Linked DNA regions of Homo sapiens: all the other regions are linked to region 1. Evidence: promoter capture Hi-C in 16 types of primary human blood cells and fetal thymus (Javierre and others, 2016). All regions are on one chromosome and are shown on one strand. The core of a region is centred on a gene start or on the middle of the fragment in contact, and the rest is flanking DNA. Distances in the headings are between cores, read along the strand shown.

Region 1 (2,953 bases), core at 323-2,822:
GTGGCTCATGCCTGTAATCCCAGCACTTTGGGAGGCTGAGGCGTGCAGATCATGAGGTCAGGAGATAGAGACCATACTAGCTAACACGGTGAAACCCCGTCTCTACTAAAAATGCAAAAAATTAGCCTGGCGTGGTGGCGGGCACTTGTAGTCCCAGCTACTCGGGAGGCTGAGGCAGGAGAATTGCTTGAACTCGGGAGGCGGAGCTTGCAGTGAGCCGAGATCGCGCCACTGCACTCCAACCTGGGCGATGGAGCGAGACTCTGTCTCAAAAAAAAAAAAAATGTTTTACACATTCATAAATAAATAAGTTGCAGGGAGGGGATAAGCAAGCAGGTCAGTTACTGGTCCCATCAGCAACCAGGCCTGCCTGCTACAAATTCAGTTGCTGGAAGCTTGCTGGAGGCCCTTGACTAGATGTGAGAAAGCCCTACCCCCGTCTGGACCCAATGTCCCCACTAGTCTGGATGACCTTCCTATTGTTCCACAGAGTGGGCCTGGGGGGCTGCTGGGTCTGCAGGTGCAGAAATCTAAACCACCTCACACCTCAGTCTCCAGCCTAGGCCAGTTCCTTAACCCATTCAGAACTCCGTTTTTGCAGATATGAGCCAGAATCCCTCCTATGACAGGTCTGCGCCTTTCTAAAGGTAGCGTCAGGCTTATGGACCCACCCATGATCTGCCCTCCAAAACTCAGCCCTCCAAAATGCAACTCATAATCCTCTCTGAAACCTGCTCCCTAAGCTGACTTCTCCAACTCCATTCTTTCAGATTTTCAGGCCAAAACAAAATCCATGGAATAGACCCTTCACTACCCTCACTGCTACATTTGATGCAGCAGGAAATCCTGTCGACTCTATCTCTGAGATCCATCCAGAATCTCATCACACTTCCCCTCTACTGCAACCCCTCTGGCCCATCCCTACCATAACTCAAGGGGTCTCCTCAGCGGTCCCCTTGTCCTGGTTTAACATCCTGTTTTTCCCAACTTTAAACGTCTACCTCTGGGCATAACCCTTCCTGCACAGCCTTCTACGGCTTTCAGCAGCTCCGCTGCCCTCCCAGGCGAGACTCCGCCTCACCCTCAGCTCCGTGGAGACAAAGACGCTCGGGCTCCCCAGTGCCGCCCGCTCTGCAGCACCTCTAAGCCTCGCACGTGCAGGTCCCTGACAGGAGCTCCCCCGCCTCACAGCACCGCGGACACCGGTACCCCACACAAGAACGCTCCTCTCTTTGGGACACAGGGGCCTGACCTGCAGGGCCCCTCCTCGGGGCTTCGGCACTCGGAGGAGGGATCGGGCGGGGCGCCCTGGGACGCGGCACCCACCTCAGTCAGGTTCATCGGCGCAGCCTCCGCCAGCACAGCCAGGGAAGAGCGGGGCGGGAGCGGCAGTGACCTGGACGCTGACAGAGGCACCAACGCCTGCAACCGATTCAACCGAGCCTCACTCTAGCCTCTGTACAACGGGGAAACCTTTTCTCGCGTTTTTCCGCTTTTTCACCTCAGTCTCGACTCAGCCTGAAGGTGAACAGATCCCAACGCAGCCATATTGACAACCCCAGGAGGCGTTGCAGGAAGTCCCGCCCACACGCATTGCGAACCCCCGTAGACGCCGCTCTGCTAGGCCTTCATTGGCTACACTCGCTGCTTGTGTCCGCCGCTGTGTCTTTTGGGTAATGTAGTTCCCAGGCCACTGCCTGCCCCGCTTCTGAACTTAAGTTAACTCGCGTTCAGGATGAAAGCCAGGAGGATCCTCCTGAGGCTTTGAGAAATGCAGTTGCGGGGCTCCAAGGACGTGGAGGGGCTTCATTGGCTTTTAAACGGCAAGCATCCAGATTTTCCCGGAAGGCAGTCTAGAACAAGTCAGAGAAATGTTTCAGAGACCTGTCCTTTCAGATTCTGTAAAGCACAGCAAGTTCCCAAAAGACGAACATCCGAAGGAACATGGCCAACCATAAAGAACTGGTCTTCCACGCATAGCGGTCAGCTCTTTTGTGCTTGCCAAATACACACAGAACGAAGCTCTGGAGACTGTTTTATGATCTTCAATGTGCTCTGCTGGGCACATTGAAAAGACCCAGACATGGCATGATGGGGAGTTTGAGGAGTAATATCTTTCCTTTCTGAATAATCAGTTATTGTCTTTCAGCCTACCCAGCAACACTTTATTCACATGATACTTATTACTTTATATCTGAGATATTTTCCACTTATTTTAAGAGACTGAAACCTAACTGAAAAGGAAAAGCGACTTATCTACCATTATCTGCCAGAATAGTGTGGCCTTCCACCAGTCAAAGCCCTTGTGCAAAGAAAGCATCTTACTCCTGAGATAAAGGTTTGGGAATGCATGATCTCATCTCATTAGTGGAAAGTGATTTATCATTTCGCCTGAAATTGTATCAACAGTGTCTGCACAGGGAGTTGAAATTGTCTCTGAATAACTCTTGTGAAATGGCTATTACTGAAACTATTAATGACGATTATGTAGATATCCAAAGAAAGTGGCAAAAATAGTTATAGAGAAACATATTTGTGATAGGAGGAAAAAAGCTAAGGTTGTCCTGGAACCTTGGACACACTCAAGTTTGGTGTCCAAAATCTGATTCTTTTTCAAACTTGAAAACATTGTGCATTAACAGCTTGAAGGGAGAGGTAAAGACTATATATTAAAAGAGTTACCAGAAAAGTAAAGCTGAATAGGGAAACTGTGCTGTCGTATTTATTACTCTAACATATTTGATGAACACTCATTCGATGCCAGGTACAATACTAAGTGCATGGGACACATTAGGAGTAGGGTTGCTAGCTGTCTGTGGTCCTCTAAGACACGTAAGACGTATTTAATGAATTAGTCCTCAGTCCTGTATTGACCTTGTCAGGTCACTTTAAATGTCCTGTATTCCGCTTTTTACAATAAATTACAAAACCTCAGAAGTTAGAGCTATTTTTC
Region 2 (2,953 bases), core at 118-2,617, 950 kb before region 1:
TGTACCCACACCTGCCCAAACCACCTGGGCTGAGGTGAGAGCTCCCTAGTACAAATTGGGAAAAATTGGTACAAAAAGAGCTCGTGGAGGCCGGGTGCAGTGGCTCGGGTCTGTAATCCTAGCACTTTGGGAGGCCAAGGTGGGAGGATCACTTGAGCCCAGAAGTTCAAGACCAGCCTGGGCCATATAGCGAGACCCCGTCTCTAGCTATTCATTTATTTTAGCTTACAGCATCTGGTCTATGTTGTTTTTTGAGACGGAGTCTTGCTCTGTCACCCAGGCTGGAGTGTGCAGTGGCACGACCTCAGCTCACTGTAACTTCTGCCTCCCCGGTTCAAGCGATTCTCCTGCCTCAGCCTCCCGAGTAGCTGGGATTATAGGCACACGCCAACAAGCCTAATTTTTGTATTTTCAGTAGAGACGGGGTTTCACCATGTTGGTCAGGCTGGTCTCGAACTCCTGACCTCGTGATCTGCCCGCCTCGGCCTCCCAAAGTTCTGGGATTACAGGCGTGAGCCACCGCGCCCGGTTTATTTATTTATTTTAGCCAACAGCACTCGGTGTTCCCAGACGGTCTCCCAAGTACTAACCAGGCCCGACCCTGCTTAGCTTCTGAGATCCCGACTCAATTTTTTTTTTTTTTTTTTGAGACGGAGTCTCGTTCTGTCGCCCCAGGCTGGAGTGCAGTGTCGCGATCTCGGCTCACTGCAAGCTCCGCCTCCCAGGTTCAAGCGATTCTCCTGCCTCAGCCTCCCGAGTAGCTGGGACTACAGGCGCCCGCCACCACGCCCGGCTAATTTTTTGTATTTTTAGTAGAGACGGGGTTTCTCCGTGTTAGCCAGGATGGTCTCGATCTCCTGACCTCGTGATCCGCCCGCCTCGACCTCCCAAAGTGCTGGGATTACAGGCGTGAGTCACCGCGCCCGGCCCCCGACTCTATTTTAAAAACCGCGTGGATTCCAGCTTGGTGGGTGTTCCACAGCGCGTGGGTGTGAGACGCAGCTCAGTGGCGTCAACTCAGCAAGGTTCCAGGGTGGTAAAGACGGCCTGGGGCCGGAGGAGGACCGCCAGGGAGAAGCTACGTTGGCCCGACTTGCGTCCGCGACCCGGGCAGCCCCAGGCGCCTGTGTAGCTGTTGGGTGTGTGCCGCAGAGGCTGGCCGGGTGCAGGAAGGGGCGGAGCGCATCCATGGCAACGCAGGACGCCCGAGTAGCTTGGCTGTGGCGCCGTCCCCATGGGAACCAGAAGGCGCGCGCCCGCAGCCGCGGCATAGTTACGCAGGCGCAGTGGGGAGAAACGCGACGCCTTGGGCCGCTCTGCCGAATGCAACCGCGCCCCCAGGAGACCCGGTGCCCGCCCTCCTACCATTCCACGCGGCTCGAGCCCGCGTGCGGGCCTCTTTCAGGCCGCTCCTAGTGGACGCAGAGGCGGGCCGAGGACGGTGAGTGACGCCGACGGACACCCTCGGCCAGGCACAGATCCGCCCTCCGGCTCCAACCACTCCCGCCGCGCGGGGCAGGACGGGCCTCGGCCCTGAGCTGGGCCCTCTGGGACCACCGAGAGATAGGCCTCCGCGCCGTCCAGAGCGGCCCGGAAGTGGCCCTGCACGGGCCAGAGGCGACCGTGGTCGGGACGGAAATGGCTCCCGTTTGCTGTTCTCTCGGTGAACGCGAGCCTTATGGCGATCAGTTCTGTGGCATCGTTCCTCCTGCTCGTTTATTCTTTCACTCATTCACTCATGCCCTGCCGCGCCATCATTTCTTCCCACATTCATTTATTCGTTCATCAGTCCCCAGCCCCGGGTAGTTTCGGAGCTCACCAGGCTGGGCTCGCCTCCCAGCCTCCGGAGCTGCCCGCACAGGCCTCGCGCCACCTGGCCGCAGCTTCCTCCCCTTTATCCACTCCGTATTTGTTTGTCCAGCCTAGGCCTTGGGGGTTGTGGGGGAGACACAAGTACCCGTGACTGGTCGGACAAGTGCCCGTTGTTGGGGGCGTGGGCGCTGGGACTGACGCGGGAGGTGGCTCTGATCATGTCGAGGTGAGGAGGAGGCGTTGAGGCTCAGAAAGGGCACGCAGCGTGGACGTGAGGACGTCGGGGAGGCTGGAGCAGTGAGGCCGACAGGAAGGACCTTACGGGGCTCACATGCTATCCCACGACGAGGACGGACTCAGGACGGCAGCCCTGATAGATGCGGCTGGGGGCTGGCGGGTCGGGGTCGCACACCACAGGATGGAGGGGCAGCGGTGCCTGGCTCCGCCTTAAGAAACATGGGCCCTTGGGGGACCCGGATTTCTGATACTTCAATACACAAATATGGATTTTTATTGAAATCAGATGTCGTTTTTTTAAAATTTAACTTTTGATTTGAGGTAATTATAAATTCACATGCAGTAACAAGTAATGCATACCCTATGTACGCTTTACCCAATTCCCCTAAAGGTGGCATCTTGAAAAACTAGAGGCCAGGTGCGGTGGCTCATGTCTGTAATCCCAGCACTTTGGGAGGCCAAGGCGGGTGGATCCCTTGAGCTCAGGAGTTAAAGACCAGCCTGAGCAACATGGTGAAACCCCATCTGTACTGAAAACACAAAAATTAGGCGGGTGTGGAGGCTGGTGCCTGTAATCCCAGCTACTCGGGAGTCTCAGGCAGGAGAATCGCTTGTACCCAGGAGGCGGAGGTCGCGGTGAGCCCACATCACGCCACTGCACTCCAACCTGGGCAACAGAGCGAGACTCTGTCTCAAAAAAAGAGAAGAGAAAGAAAAACTAGAGTACAATATCACAACTGAGATGCAGAATATTTCCATCACGAAGGATCCCCGTGTTGCCCTTACAGAGCCGCATACCCTTCCCTCCTACCTCTGCTCCCCGTTAACCTCTTTTTGTCAACTAGTAATCTGTTCTCATTTCTACCATTTTGTCATTTTACGAATGTTGCATAGGCTGGGCGAG
Region 3 (2,953 bases), core at 315-2,814, 900 kb before region 1:
TGGTCTCGATCTTCTGACCTCGTGATCTGCCTGCCTCGGCCTCCCAAAGTGCTGGGATTATAGGCGTGAGCCACCGCACCCGGCCAGGGTTGAGGCTTTCTAAGCCCTGCTGGAATTCTGTTTAAGCTTCTAAAAAGGGCTGTTATTTTTGAGTTTGCTTATTCAAGTTAAGAATTTTACTCTGTAAGTTACTGATATCAAAAGTAATATTGGATGTAAAAGCTCCCTGCAAATGAGCTTTTACAAGGTTCCATGGATATTCACTTTGGTTCTATTCCAAATTGGTCACACAAATATGAATATGATTGAAATGACAGTGCAATTGCTGCTACAATTGCAAACTTTGTACCTGCTTTCCCAGCCACAGAACAGTAGCCTTTAACATTGCTACCTTTGTTTGTAATTCGGTATTAATTTTATTTTGAAGCATCCATGCCTGGTTGGCTGTACATGTCCAATTTTCTACATATTGGGCTGTTTGAATAGAACTATGTAGTGCTACTGAGGACACTACAACCGAGGTTATTAGTGTGACTAAGGAGATTACAGTAAAAATTACTATGTTTAAGGCTTTACGTGCACGATGAGTGAGCTGGGTAAGAAGGAGTTTTACAAAATGTAAAGCAGGGGTGGCAGCCCAAGGTTTGCACAAATTGACAGGGATCCATAATCCAGGGATACGACCCAGAATTATTAGAGTGGATATGTTGTGTGTTTGTATTGTGCTATGATTGAGGCAGTGATACAGTTGACAAGAGTCACAAGTCAACTGGGTGATGTTTACGTGGAGTTGGTCCTTCTTAGATGCTAGAAAAACATAGGGATTAAAAACACAAACTGGCCGGGCATGGTGGCTCACGCCTGTAATCCCAGCACTTTGGGAAGCCAAGGCGGGTGGATCACGAGGTCAGGAATTCAAGAGCAGCCTGGCCAAGAAGGTGAAATCCCGTTTCTATTAAAAATACAAAAAACAAAAAATAGCCTGGCACGGTGGCGGGTGCCTGTAATCCCAGCTACTCGGGAGGCTGAGGCAGACAATTGCTTGAACCCGGGAGGCAAAGGTTGCAGTGACCCGAGATTGCGCCACTGCACTCCAGCCTGGGCGACAGAGTGAGACTCCATCTCAAACAGTTAACAACAACAACAAAAAACCCACAAACCGTAAATTGAGTGGTAATATTTTTTACAAAGGTGATATTAAAACTGTGTTGAGTAATATTACTATTGTTGGATAATGTTCTGACCCAGATGCTGTTATTCATAAATGGGAGTGTTGCCTTCCATATCGATTCCTGAATTGGGCCTCTGTTTCCTAGATGACGTCACTGAGGTAAGGGCGGGTTAAAGCCTGTCCTATACCAAGCAAGTTGTGCAGCCAACTGGGGGACTGAATCCCAGTGTGATGTGATGAAGAGGTGTTGAAGGTCCACCACCAGTGCCAGTGAAGTTTGTGCCAAGAGGTCTGATTTTCATCTCTCCCCTCTAAATGGCCACGGGGACCCCAGTCAATGTTTCCCATTAACATAGACTGTTGTCTGGCCAAGGGGCCAAGACACTGGGTCCAAGGAGGGGGGTGAGAAATATCAAAGGGAGCCCATTCCATATAATCCATACAATTTGAGTGATGGGGCTAGGAGTGATTGGTGAACACGCCAGTAACATTAATAAAGCTGAGGCCTAATAAATACATAATTTTTCCATGGTGACTTAACCATGCCTGAGATTGGACTGCAAGACAGCTGCAGTTGAGTGACGTATCCATGGTGATACATAAAGGGAGTCCTTCCAATGGGCCGGTGTAATTGATGCTATTGCTCTGTGTCAGACGGAGTTAGGGGTCCTGGTGCCCACGCTCCCTGATCATAATATATCTCAGGAGGAGTGTCGCTCCAGAGTACCAGTCGTACTACCAGTGGGTTAGGAACATATGCCCAATATGTTTTTGCCTCTACACAGGGGAAACATACCGCACAGGACACTACAGCTAGCATGGCCAAGAACATGGAGTCAGGGGTTTTTGCCTGACCCTGGCGCTCCAGTAGTTTCTCAGCTTCTTGTGTCGTTTTCTTGATCTGTCCCCATGTTATGGGGTTGGATGTCATTGTGACTCCGGTCGGCCCTTGTTCTGTCTTTGCATTCAGATTCCGCTGGCTCATGGCTCGTACTGGAGGTAACAGGCCCACGGTTGAATACCATGGATCCCTCCGGTCTCCCGTTCCATGGTCACACACACCTGGAGGGCACCCACACGGTTTGTCCATCTCCTGTAAAAACACAAGCATACCCTCGTCCCCACGTCAGCAAATCCACCGGACCTTTCCATTGTCCTTCTTCTGGGGATTTCCATAACACTTTTGGATAAACTTGCCTCTTTTCCTCTAGCAGTTGCCAGTGTCGTTCTGCTGGGGTCTTGCCATCCGTACCAGGAGTCAAACAATTTAAAGTAAACAAGGCTAAATGTAATTTTGTTTGAAGTGGTAATTGGTCCCCTATTCTCCCTTTTTGTTTTTTCAGCATGCGTTGTAGTGTTTGATGTACCCGCTCAATAATGCCTGGCCCTCAGGGATTGTATGGAATTCCTGTTTTATGATTGATTGCCCACAATTGTAAAAAATTGGGAAAGCATGACTAACATAAGCGAGTCCACTGTCAGTTTTAAATTGTTTAGGGACCCCCATATGGGCAAATGACGACAGACAGTATCGTCAGACATGACCAGCTGTTTCCCCAGTTTGGCATGTGGCATGTAACATATGGGAGTAAGTGTCTATATTACATGAACATAGCGGAGTTAGCCAAAGGCTGCTATATATATGTAACATCCATCTGCCAGATTTCATTTGGAGCCAAGCCTCGTGGGTTGCATCCTTCCACAGGTGCAACACCAGGGACATGCTGGCAAGTGGGGCAGGCTTGCACAATAACTCAAGCCTGGCTGCGAGGCAGATGAAAC
Region 4 (2,953 bases), core at 138-2,637, 820 kb before region 1:
GGCACAACACATGTATTCATAGTGATTATACTTGGACATAAAATTCCCCATCTGTTCCTCATACTGGACCTGTATGGTGGCTGATCTGGCAGAAGTCCCTCTGGCTGCAGGGCTGGGGAGGGAGTTGCTTTCTCTTTCCTTTTCCAGTTTTCTCCTTCCCTGCTTGTGGGGTGACGTTTCCAATCTGCTCCAGGTTACGTGTCCAGCCCAAACCTCCTGGGCTTCCTGCCACTGCCATTCCCTCCTCCACATTCAGCCATGTCACCCACATGCTCCTCAACTCCCATGCAGAGACTGACCAGGCATACCACATCTTCCTTGCACTGTGACTTCTACCCTGGCTCCACGCTGGAAACAGAAACACAGTCTTCCTCCACTCCTTCCTGTCTTTTGGCATCCCTCCTTACACGGAGTCATTTCCACAATCAGATGTTTCCCTACTCCCTTAGACTCTTGAAATCCAACCCCATGCCTTCCTCATTAGCACTGCCTTGTACGGTCCCCATCAAATATCACCCAACACAAATGGAACCCCGATCCCTAACTTACAGGCGTTACATACACATCCCATCCTGTTCACCTCTGTAGTCTCTCTATGGGGTGCACCAGCATCGCTTAACCAGTGCAGGCCCCCAACACCCCAGTTACCCCTGCCCTGCGTGGACTGGCCTTAATCTTCTGTTCACTTGGAAAATACACATGTTCTCTGCAAGGTTCAAGCTTCACGTACCATTGGAAGAAAATGTGTCCACGTCTGGAGCTGGGATGACCTCTGGGGTCCAATAGGCGTCACCTGCCTGGTGCCGCTGTGCCAGGAGGCTCTTGGCTGCCACCTGTGGATAAGCCGCAGAAGATGAGTTGAGGGAGGAAAAAGGAGCCGGGAGAGGCCCGCTGGGTCGGCAGCCCCAGAGCTCCAGACGCCAGCCTGAATCCCCCGCCCCTGCAGCCCTCGACCCAGGCACCCTCTGTCGGGAGGGCCCACCCAGTCCCACCCAGTCCCACCCAGTCCCACCCAGTCCCACCCAGTTCCACCCCTGCCCGTACCTGCGAGGTACTATAAGTTCCCTCCCAGCTCTGCAGCAGGAGAGCCTCCCGACAAGCTCAGACCCAGCCGGGCGCTCCTGCAGGGGAAACCTGACTGGACCGGCCTTCCCCGTCCCTGAGGCCGGAGAGATCCCGATCCCATCAGGCCCCTGCCCTTGCTCGGCCTCGCCGCATGAGGGACCCCCGCAGGCCCTGCTCGTTTCTCCGGCACGCCCAGATCACTTGGGGCGGCTCTGGCCTGGTCCTGCGCTCCGGCCGCACCCGGCTAACAGTGAAACCTCCGAGCCAACCTTGAGGCCGCCAGACTCACCTGCACGCACCGGCCAATGGCGGTGCTTCCGGTGGCCGGCGGACGTGCCCGCGCTCCGCGCAACAAACAACTCCCAGAAGGCCGCGCGCCGGTAGCCGTTGCTCCCACAGGCATAGTCATTGCCGGCGGGAGCATGGGGCCCCGCGGCGGCGGGATGAGCTTTTTCCTGTGTTCGCGACTAGCATTGTGGCTTAGGGAGTTGCTTCCCGCGGCTCTGCTCCTTGCAGCGCCTGTCCCCTCCCCCTTAAACGGGCCACGCTGGTTCTCATCCAGCAACCGAAGCCGAGACTGTGGAGGCGGCGGTCGGCGTCCAGGGCGGGACTAGCGCCTATGGGGCTCGGCGCTGTCATCTCGGGTGCCTTCCCGGCGCCTTGCCCTGCTGGGGAGAGAGACCAAGACTGAGCCATGAGAACAGTCCAAGGCCGTTAACCGGGAGCTCAGGGGCAAGGGCGCCCGCCAACATCTGCGCCTGTGGCAGGGACTCAGGGACAGCCTGGGCGTGGGGACGCGTCCTAGTGATAGAAACAAAGCCCCGGGAGTGCCCTGCTTGGAGCATTCCGAGTGGAAGGTGGAAGCACGCTAACTGGAGGCGATTCGTCCTAGGTGATCGCTCAGTCGAGCCTATTTGGCTTTCTGTGGTAGCTCCTAAGTGGGACAGGGAAAAAAATAGGGAGGCTGGCAGTGACCAAGTTCTGTTTTGTACCTATTGCTGCAGAAGTTGTGGGACAGAGTTCTGTTATTATAAATGGTCTGATGTTCAGTCTCAGTGCGTTGTGGGGCTCAATGTCTGAGACCCACCACCGCCTGACCCGTCCTGGCTCTTCAATGAGGGAGACCACAGGAAACTTTCCTACGAAGGCCAGGTAGGCGGGAACCACTGTGGCTCAGGCACCCTCAGCTCCTGGACTGTGCTTTTGTGTCTGGGGTGCATCTGTGACTAGCCTTCCTTGGCTTGACTGTTTTGTAGCTGACCTTGTCGATAGCTTTACCCAACAGTCATCATCTTTTTACTTGCTTATTTTCATACCTGGCTAGCACGACCCTGCAATTTTTAGATTCTTCCGGGAAATCTAGAATCTAACTCCCTAAGGGAGGATCTTGATGGATTCTAAGCTAATCAGAATGGACTCAAGCTTCTTGCTGTGTGAATTAGGCAAGGATATTCTGGCCAAGGAGAAATAAGGCTGCTAGGGGTTTCCTGGGAAGGTTCCCTCAGTCTTTTTTTTTTTTTTTTTTTTTTTTTTTTTTTGTGAGACGGAGTCTCGCTCTGTCCACCAGGCTGGAGTGCAGTGGTACGATCTAGGCCCACGGCACTCTCCGCCTTCCGGGTTCACGCCTTTCTCCTGCCTCAGCCTCCCGAGTAGCTGGGACTACAGGCGCCCGCCACCACGCCCGGCTAATTTTTTGTAATTTTTCTTTTTTAGTAGAGACGGTGTTTCTCCCTGTTAGCCAGGATGGTCTCGATCTCCTGACCTCATGATCCACCCGCCTCGGCCTCCCAAAGTGCTGGCATTACAGGCATGAGCCACCGCTCCCGGCCGGTTCCCTCAGTCTTAAAAGTGGACATAAGATAGCAATGTGTCTTCTTTTGCCCCTGGA
Region 5 (2,953 bases), core at 321-2,820, 720 kb before region 1:
TACAGGCGTGAGCCACTGTGCCTGGCTTAATTTTTGTATTTTTAGTGGAGGTGGGGTTTCACCATGTTAGTCAGGCTGGTCTCGAACTCCTGAGCTCAGGTGATCCACCCACCTCAGCCTCCCAAACTGCTGGAATTATAGGCGTGAGCCACCGCGCCTGCCCCCAGTTTATGTTTTCACAGCTGCCACTAAGGTACCCTGCCAAGCACGCTGACCACTTTCCAAGCCCTCTTCCCTTGTGACCTACCAAAGCTTTATATTATTGTACTTCATTTTATTTTTACTCACGTGAAATGTGTATATTTTGTGTTCTTAAAGTCGCAGTTTGGAATTGCCTGAATGATAGAATGAGAAAATAAATATTGATGTTTTCAGGACATTTCTTTTTTTTCTTTCTTTTTTTTTTTTTTTTGAGGCAGAGTCTCGCCCTGTTGCCCAGGCTGGAGTGCAGTGGCGCTATCGCGGCTCACTGCAAGCTCTGCCTCCCGGGTTCATGCCATTCTCCTGCCTCAGCCTCCCAAGTAGCTGGGACTACAGGCGCCCGCCACCACGCCTGGCTAATTTTTTGTATTTTTAATAGAGACGGGGTTTCACCGTGTCAGCCAGGATGGTCTCGATCTCCTGACCTTGTGGTCCACCTGCCTCAGCCTCCCAAAGTGCTGGGATTACAGGCGTGACCCACTGCTCCCAGCCAATGTTTTCAGGACATTTCTATTTTCCCTTCACGAAGTGCTCTTTGATTACTTTGCCCATTTTTTTTCTTTTTATGTGCTGTTCTGTAAGAATCCTCTGTAGTTCTTGGGCAGTAATTCTTTGTGCTTTTAAATCTTATTTTCTCTCTGTAAGAATCCTCTATAGCTCTTGGGCAATAATTCTTTGTGCTTTTAAGTCCTATTTTCTCCCTATCTGCCACTTGCATTTTGTCTCTTATTGTGTCTTTTATTGGATGGAAAATTTGAATGCTGATATCAGACTTCTTAATCCTTGTCTGTTTTTTATTTTTTGGTTTTTGTTTTTTGTTTTTAAGACATGGTCTCTTTTGCCCAATCTGGAATGCAGTGGCACAATTACAGCTCACTGCAGCCTCAGCCTTCTGTGTGGGCTCAAGTGATAACTCCCACTTCAGCCTCCCAGAGTGCTGGGATTACAGGCATGACCCCCAATGCTTGGCCATATGGTTTTTTGGTTAAGTTTTGTTGATCAAAGTCTGCCACACTTATGAAGGCATACTACATTATTTAAACTTTGACTTTATGTTGCAGCCTGTATCCTTCTGAAATGTAAATACACGCGCACACACACACACACACACACATATACACATATACATGTATATATATTTAAATTGCCTAGAATGTAGACATATATGTATGTATGTATTCTGAGGCAAGGGTCTATTTTCATTTTACCTTAAAAAATAGAAAGAAGGCTGGGCACAATGGCTCATCCCTGTATTTGCAGCATTTTGGGAGGCTGAGGTGGGATAATTGCTTGAAGTTTTTGAGATTGAGGCTTCAGTGAACCAAGATCACACCACTGCACTTCAGCCTGAATGACAGAGCGAGACCCGATCCCACCAAATGAATGAACGAATGAATGGACAACCAGTTGTCTTAATATTGTGAAGTCTGAATGGACAAGGATGGTGACAGGAAGATTGATATGCATGAAGACACATGCAACCATTTACAGAATGCCCTTCATCCCCTAGCCTTGGAGACTGCTTTGTACATGATCCAGTTTTTTTTTTTTTTTTTTTTTGAGACGGAGTCTTGCTCTGTGGCCCAGGCTGGAGTGCAGTGGCACGATCTTGGCTCACTGCAAGCTCCGCCTCCCGGGTTCGCGCCATTCTCCTGCCTCAGCCTCCCGAGTAGCTGGGACTACAGGCGCCCGCCACCACGCCTGGCTAATTGTTTGTATTTTTTTAGTAGAGACGGGGTTTCACCACGTTAGCCAGGATGGTCTCAATCTCCTGACCTTGTGATCTGCCCACCTCGGCCTCCCAAAGTGCTGGGATTACAGGCGTGACCACCGCGCCTGGCCGACATGATCCAGTTTTTATAACAACCATGCAGGGCAGTCTTTGACAGTTTTTGTTTTGTTTTGTTTTTTGAGATGGAGTCTCACTCTGCCGCGTAGGCTGGAGTGCAGTGGTGTGATCTCAGCTCACTGCAACCTCTGCCTACCAGGTTGAAGTGATTCTCCTGCCTCAGCCTCCAGAGTAGCTGGGACTACAGGCATGTGCCACCACGCCTGGCTGATTTTTTTTGTATTTTTAGTAGAGACGGTGTTTCACCATGTTGGTCAGGCTGGTCTTGAACTCCTGACTTCAAATGATCCACCTGCCTCCACTTCCCAAAGTGCTGGGATTACAGGAGTGAACCACTGTGCCCCGCCAGGTCATTGACAGTTCTAAGACTTAGACCCAGAACTTTTAGGTCACCAAGCCTGTGCTTTGTCCTATCCATGAATGCAGAACTTTGATGACAGAGCTGGGGTGAGAACTGTTCCTTCAGTGCTGTTGTAAGCTCATTGTGAAGTCAGAGCTTTGGAAATGTGTACTGATGGGCAGTGTGTGACAGGGACAAGAATGCAGTGGCTGGGATGGAATTCTAGGGGGAGCAGGGATGCTTGGCCTCTGGTCTCTCACATCTCAAACTAATCCTTTTGGTGATGATTTATCCCGAGGTCCATTCCTCCTGCCTGCTCTCTAGGAAGATGAAAATGCTACATGGCTCTTTTTGAATCTGTTCTTGGTTCCATTCCTTGGCTACGATTTTACCTCTTCCTTGTATAAATTTGAATTTAAAAGAGAAAACAAGTAAAAAAATACACATCTTTACACCTAGCCCATCATCATTGTCTGTTTCTCTTACAGATAAAGCTTCATATACCTAAGTCTGCATTTTTCTTCTTTTTGCAGTTTGGGATATGAGATTGAAAATGACGACTC
Region 6 (2,953 bases), core at 275-2,774, 690 kb before region 1:
GCCAGCTAAACTGCATTCTTAAATAAGAAGACTGGAAAGGCAAAATTATTACTCCTTGGTCCATGGGCTGCAGAATACACGTTGTGTTGGCAGTTGCGAGAACAACATTAATTTCCTTCTATGTCTTCATCAGAGCTCTTGTCAGTGAGCAGCCATAATTTGAATCTTTTTTTCTCAGGAGGAAGTCTCTCAACAGTGGGTTTAAAATATTCAGTACACCATACTGTAAACACGTACTGTCATCCAGGCTTTGTTTACATTTATAGACAGCACTCAGAGTAGATTTAACTTAAATCTTAAGGCCCTAGGGTTTTCAGAATGGTAAATGAGCTTTGGTTTCAACTTAAAGTCACCAGTTGCATTAGCCCTTAACAAGAGTCGGCCTGTTCTTTAAAGCTTTGAAGCTAGGCACTGACTTCTTTCTAGTTGTGAAAACACTACCTGGCATTTCTTCCAACAGAAGGCTGTTTTCTTTACATTTAAACTGTTGTCTACTGTAGCGACCTTCCTCAGTGATCTTAGCTAAATCTGGAGAACTTGCTGCAGCTTCTGCATTAGCACTTGCTGCTTCACCTTGCACTTTTATGTTACGGAGATGACTTAAACTTCATGAACCAACCTCTGCTAGCTTCAGACTTTTTTATTTTATTTTATTTTATTTTATTTTATTTTATTTTATTTTATTGAGATGGAGTCTCACTCTTTTGCCTAGGCTAGTGTGCAGTGGCATGATCTCGGCTCACTGCCAACCTCTGCCACCTGGGTTCAAGCAATTCTCATGCCTCAGCCTCTTGAGTAGCAGGGATTACAGGCACTTGCCACCATGCCTGGCTAATTTTTTTTGTATTTTTAGCAGAGATGGGGTTTCGCCACGTTGACCAAGCTGTTCTCAAACTCCTGACCTCAGGTGATCTGCCCATCTCTGCCTCCCAAAGTGCTGGTATTACAGGCATGAGCCACCACACCCGGCCCAGACTTTTTTTTTGTTTTGTTTTGTTTTGTTTTGTTTTTGAGACAGCCTCACTCTGTTGCCCAGGCTGGAGTGCAGTGGCACGATCTCAGCTCACTGCAACCTTCGCCTCCCAGGTTCAAGCAATTCTCCTGCCTCAGACTCCTGAGTAGCTGGGACTACAGGCGCACGCCACCATGCCCAGCTAATTTTTGTATTTTTAGTAGAGGTGGGGTTTCACCATGTTGGCTAAGCTGGTCTTGAACTGCTGACCTCAGGTGATCCATCCCGCTTGGCCTCCCAAAGTGTTGGGATTACAGGCATGAGCCACTGTGCCTGGCCGGCTCAGAATTTTCTTCTGCATCTTCCTCGCCTCTCACAGCCTTCATAGAAATGAAGAGAGTCAGGACCTTGCTCTGGATTAGGCTTTGGCTTAAGAGAATGTTAGTTCTCTTTGGGTAGTTTGATCTCCTATCCAGACCATTAAAGCTTTCTCCCTATTGGCGACAAGGCTGTTTCAGTTTCTTGTCATTCACATATTCACTGGAGTCACACTTTTCATTTCCCTCAAGTTTTTCTCTTGGCCATCACAATTTGGCTGTTTGGCACAAGAGGGCTAAGTTTTGGCCTGTCTTTGACACGCCTTCCTTACTAAGCTTAATCATTTCTAGCTTTTGATTTGAAGTTAGAGGTCTGACTCTGCCTTTCACTTGAACACTTAGTGGCCATTGTAGGGTTATTAACTGGCCTAAGTTCAATATTGTTTTGTCTCAGGGAATAGGGAGGCCTGAGGAAAGAGATTGAGAGAGAGTGCGTACCAGCGAGCAATGGCAGGTTGGTGGAGGAATCAGGACACACAACATTTATCTGCTGAGTTCATTGTCTTATATAGGCGTGGTTCCTTTCACTCCAGAACAATTACAATAGTTACAACAAAAATTACTGATCACAGATCACCATAACAGATAATAATAATGCAATAGTTTGAAGTATTGTGAGAATTACCAAAATGTGACACAGAGACACAGAGAGCATATGCTGTTTGATAAATGGTGACAATAGACTTAATTGACACAGGTTGCCACAAACCTTCAACTTGTAAAAAATGCAATATCTGCATAGGATAATTAAGCAAAGTGCAAGAAAACAAGGTAATGCCTATATCTGGAAGTTAGTCGTGACACAGAACCTAAAGACTTACCGTATTTCCTTTATTCTGTGATACATATCTTGCCATATTTTAACATCTGAAAACAAACCAGGTTAATCAGTGATATGGTTTAATTGGCAGCCTTTTTTTATTTTTTTATTTTTTTTTAGAGAGAGTCTCGCTGTGTCACCCAGGCTGGAGTACAGTGGTGCTATCTTGGCTCACTGTAGCCTCCACCTGCCAGGTTCAAGCGATTCTGCTGCCTCGGCCTCCCAAGTAGCTGAGATTAGAGGTGCACACCACCACACCCAGCTAATTTCTGTATTGTAGTAGAGACGAGGTTTTGCCAGGCTGGTCTTGAACTCCTGACCTCAGGTGGTCCACCCACCTCGGCCTCCCAAAGTGCTGAGATTACAGGTGTGAGGCACTGTGCTAGGCCTCAGGCAGCCTTTTATTAGCACATAAAATGTACATGTTACCATCTGTTATCTTGGAATCAATGAAATAAGAGTAATATCAGAAGGAGGAATTGAATGACTAGTGAGAGTCCATTTGAGGAGAAATACAACTCTCAAGGAAAAAATCTTGTTGCTGAGATGACAATTAACATTGACATATCCGATGCAGTACAAAATGGCAAGTCTGTGTGCCATTGTAGTCCTTCCTACCTTGCTGAATAATCATTGTTACCTGCCTTCTTTCTTATAGCCTGTGTCAGCCATAATTGTTATTTTATTGCAAGATTTTTAAAGTTCATAATGTGGGGGGAAGCCAAACAGCACAGAAGAGTATATGGTTTGTTTGTTTGTTTGTTTGTTTGTTTGTTTTGAGATGGAGTCTTGCTCTGTCGCCCA
Region 7 (2,953 bases), core at 240-2,739, 650 kb before region 1:
ATGGCTCACTGCAGCCTCCAACTCCTGGGCTCAAGCAATCCTCCCCCATAGCTGGGATTACAGCTACAAGCCATCGCACCAGTCCCCTTGTACGGGTTTTCTGACATTCCTACAGGAGGCTGGTTTCTTCTGGTGGCTTATGGGTGGGGTTAATGTCATCATAAAAAGGCGAGTTCCGCCCCCTTGGCCTCCATGACGTCTGAGGAAGCGGCACTCGATGCGCCATCTTGGAGCGCAGAGCATGCTAAGGCCTTCAACTTCAGACTGCAGAGCCGGGGCACCTACAATTTTCTGACATCACCCAGCCTCAGGTATGCAATGACGGCCGCACAAACATAAAGCCCACTCAGACAGGGACCCGTGCCCGCTGACCTCCAGCGCGGCGTGGGCGGTCCTTTCAGAGGCAGGCTGTGGTTGGGGAGCTTGGCGCGGACTTTAGGAGGCCGGGTGTGCAGGTAGAGGCCGGACACGAGTAGAGGCTAGATGTGCAAATAGAGGCCGGGCACGAGTAGAGGCCGGGCACCAGTAGAGGCCAGGTGCGCGAGTAGAGGCCAGTTGTGCGAGTAGAGGCCGGGCACGAGTAGGGGCCGGGCACGCAAGTAGGGGCCGGGCACAAGGAGGAGGCTGAGCGCGAGTAGGGACGGGGTGCAAAGAGGAGGCCGGGCGTGAGAAGGCCGCGCGCGAGGAGGCCGGGCACGAGGTGGAGGACACGCGCAAGGAGGCCGAGATTCTCACCGGGTCTGTGGAGACGCGCACCCCAGGGGTCATGCCCTGGCTTCTGGCAGGAACGGCTGGCCCTGCTCTGTGGGAAAGGGGAGGTGAGCAGCTGGGGCAGGCAGAGGCGGTGCTCAGGTCCCCAAGCCGGGGAACTGCGCCAGAGCCTGGGGAGCTCCGCGGAGAGCCGTCCAGGGCCCCGCGTACCCGTTTAAGCGCCTGCTGTGTGTGGGGCGGCCCTCCGCTCGGAGAAGGGCAGCCTAGGGTTTTCCCGCCTGTCTGAGGGAAGCTGAAGGCCTGGCGGGTGCGGACACATATCTGCTGCGCAGACTCTGAGCCTTAACGCTACAGTGACAAGGGCCGGGTGGTTGCGGTCCCCTGGCCCTGGGCACTATGCCTCAGTTTCTCTCTTCCATCAACAAAGGTGGCGGCCCAGTGCCCGGTGTGGGGCAGAGGTGGGGCCAGGGGCGGGGCGCGCGTTCCCTCAGGGGCCGTCGGAGCAGCTCCTGTCCAGCTGGGCGTTGGGCCCCGCCCTCCTCTCAGACTAGGGATGCCCCGCAAAGCCTGCCCCCGCCAGCCCCGAAACGGCCTTCCCCAGGCCCCGGGCAGCAAAACGGACTCCACACAGACGCGCGCTGCTGGAAACTCGCCCCGCCAGGGCCTCAGGAAGATCCCCGGACCCCCCGCACCCGGCCCGGCCCGGCCCGGCCTGGCCTCCCCTCCCCCTCCTCGCCGGCCTAGCTCACCCTCCTGACTGCGAGACAAAGGCCGCGGCACCGGCAGCCGACACTGCGCCGGCGCGAGCCTAACTCCATTTCCCAGAGAGCCGCGCGCGCATTTCCGGCCGCCCTCCCCCACCTCGCTCTCGCCCTTGGCGTTCGTGAGCTCTCAGTGCTGCTGGAGCTGGAGTGACTGGGCCTGGTGAAACAGGGCGCGCGGGGTGCCTGGGCATCAACGCGGGATAAGTGCCGCTTGGAACGCCGTGAGCTCCCGGCGCGACCACACGGGCTTTCGTGTTGGAAACTCTACCGTCAGTTTTACTGCTGCAAACAAAGCAATGATTTTTTCAAAACACATACTTTCAACCAAAACATTCACCAAGATCGCACACACGGGAGTCTTTGCATTTTCCACACTGAGGCAGCCATGGAGACTTCACACTGTATTTATTACATGGTTATAAGGAACATCACGTGCAAGACACTAACAATTATGACGACTTTGGACATTGCTAGGTAATTGTCAAAATTGTGCATTTGAACAGCAGCAAAATATTCAAAGCTGGTGTGCCCTCGCTGACACGAAATGAATTGTCATTTTCTGAACATTCACCAAAGCCTGCCAGGCGCTAGGCCTAGGTTCAGCAGCACACAATAGTGAAGCCCCCATTCAAGCGGGCTTCGTTTCACCAGCGTACGTCACACGTCCGTGGAGCAGCGAGACCAGAGGAGCTGGGAAAGCCAGGGCTGAGCCTTGTGCTTTTGCCCTTTTAAGGGAGGACAGATTAATTCCAATCAGCCTGGGCTTGGGAGCTGTATTTGAAGCAGAGGAAAAGTTTTAAGACGGGCATTTTTTTTTCTTTGACTGAAACAACTCTGAAAACAGCAGAGAACACAATACGAATTCTCGTACCACACACAGACACTTGCAAAGATTTGGCTGGTTAACACACAAGTTAAGACTTTAAATTTCATAAGCCCTAAAACAGTGGCAATTATGAAGAGATATAATGGCTCAAAATCATAATGCACTGATGTAAACAAAGCAAAGGCAAGCTTCTTGGCTTTTAAGGGCGTCCTGTACATTCCAAGTACTGTAAAGCCCCACATTTGTGACCGTCGCACTGAAAGCCAGCCTGCTTTTCACTCTACAGCAGTAAAGAGGCTTTCCATTATACATAAAATGCCGTTTTTCAGTTCTCGAACTCACAAACCCAAATGCCACAAAACATCTTTTTGTGTATTTTTTCTTTCACAAAATGTATACTCTTGCCCCCCACCCCCACCCCCAACCGTTTCCTTTTACTGGATCAAAAGGTATGAACACACAACTCATGGTGAAGTCTTTTTCCCAAGCGGTCTGATAGTCCTGGTGAGAAGCTGTCAGTGGTGCCACACTGAGCCTGCTCAGCCCTGATGGTGGCCAGGCGGCCCTGCCCAGCTCCCTCAAACTTGCCCCTCTGTTTCCTCCCTCAGACCTTCTGATCCTCTGTTTTTCTCAGCCAGGTTTCTAAACCGTA

Evidence for each region. The method cuts DNA at HindIII sites, captures the fragments that hold promoters and counts their contacts. A CHiCAGO score of 5 or more calls a contact.
Region 2: the fragment with the promoter of ZNF497 here is called in contact with the fragment with the promoter of ZNF17 in region 1 in 1 of 17 cell types (fetal thymus); the score reaches 6.1 in fetal thymus.
Region 3: a contact is called between a fragment that was not itself captured here and the fragment with the promoter of ZNF17 in region 1, in 1 of 17 cell types (neutrophils). The highest score is 5.4, in neutrophils.
Region 4: a contact is called between the fragment with the promoter of ZNF544 here and the fragment with the promoter of ZNF17 in region 1, in 2 of 17 cell types (total CD8 T cells and non-activated CD4 T cells). The highest score is 8.2, in total CD8 T cells.
Region 5: a contact is called between a fragment that was not itself captured here and the fragment with the promoter of ZNF17 in region 1, in 2 of 17 cell types (total CD4 T cells and naive CD4 T cells). The highest score is 5.7, in total CD4 T cells.
Region 6: a contact is called between a fragment that was not itself captured here and the fragment with the promoter of ZNF17 in region 1, in 1 of 17 cell types (total CD4 T cells). The highest score is 6.4, in total CD4 T cells.
Region 7: the fragment with the promoter of ZNF135 here is called in contact with the fragment with the promoter of ZNF17 in region 1 in 7 of 17 cell types (total CD4 T cells, naive B cells, fetal thymus and 4 more); the score reaches 6.9 in total CD4 T cells.

The regions. Positions count from the first base shown.
Region 1 is chr19:57,409,780-57,412,732 of GRCh38, reverse strand. It overlaps ZNF17 (zinc finger protein 17), which reads right to left and starts at 1,572. Exons shown (of 4, transcript NM_001330617.2): 1 at 1,327-1,572. RefSeq lists a silencer at 873-1,075 and enhancers at 1,319-1,378, 1,459-1,568. The HindIII fragment of the contact is 5,033 bases long and covers 398-2,953 here.
Region 2 is chr19:58,361,165-58,364,117 of GRCh38, reverse strand. It overlaps ZNF497 (zinc finger protein 497), which reads left to right and starts at 1,367. Exons shown (of 3, transcript NM_198458.3): 1 at 1,367-1,441. It overlaps ZNF497-AS1 (ZNF497 antisense RNA 1), which reads right to left and starts at 1,492. Exons shown (of 3, transcript NR_136527.1): 1 at 1,366-1,492. It also overlaps the pseudogene RNA5SP473. RefSeq lists enhancers at 1,673-1,802, 1,532-2,080. The HindIII fragment of the contact is 6,825 bases long and covers 1-2,953 here.
Region 3 is chr19:58,311,477-58,314,429 of GRCh38, reverse strand. It overlaps ERVK3-1 (endogenous retrovirus group K3 member 1), which reads right to left. Exons shown (of 4, transcript NM_001396080.1): 3 at 1,968-2,264. The coding sequence starts at 2,261. It overlaps ZNF8-ERVK3-1 (ZNF8-ERVK3-1 readthrough (NMD candidate)), which reads right to left. Exons shown (of 7, transcript NR_144447.1): 6 at 1,968-2,264. Among named protein-coding and RNA genes, the nearest start is that of ERVK3-1, 7.6 kb to the right of the region's middle. The HindIII fragment of the contact is 2,872 bases long and covers 129-2,953 here.
Region 4 is chr19:58,227,348-58,230,300 of GRCh38, reverse strand. It overlaps ZNF544 (zinc finger protein 544), which reads right to left and starts at 1,387. Exons shown (of 7, transcript NM_014480.4): 1 at 1,355-1,387; 2 at 731-833. RefSeq lists an enhancer at 685-1,511. The HindIII fragment of the contact is 1,767 bases long and covers 723-2,489 here.
Region 5 is chr19:58,129,482-58,132,434 of GRCh38, reverse strand. ZNF329 (zinc finger protein 329) reads left to right here. Exons shown (of 4, transcript NM_024620.4): 4 at 2,924-2,953. The coding sequence starts at 2,932. Among named protein-coding and RNA genes, the nearest start is that of ZNF329, 20 kb to the left of the region's middle. The HindIII fragment of the contact is 2,632 bases long and covers 255-2,886 here.
Region 6 is chr19:58,102,435-58,105,387 of GRCh38, reverse strand. It overlaps a transcript of ZSCAN18 not described here. Among named protein-coding and RNA genes, the nearest start is that of ZSCAN18, 5.7 kb to the right of the region's middle. The HindIII fragment of the contact is 167 bases long and covers 1,441-1,607 here.
Region 7 is chr19:58,057,818-58,060,770 of GRCh38, reverse strand. It overlaps ZNF135 (zinc finger protein 135), which reads right to left and starts at 1,489. Exons shown (of 5, transcript NM_001289401.2): 1 at 1,461-1,489; 2 at 736-802. The coding sequence starts at 768. The HindIII fragment of the contact is 3,956 bases long and covers 1-2,491 here.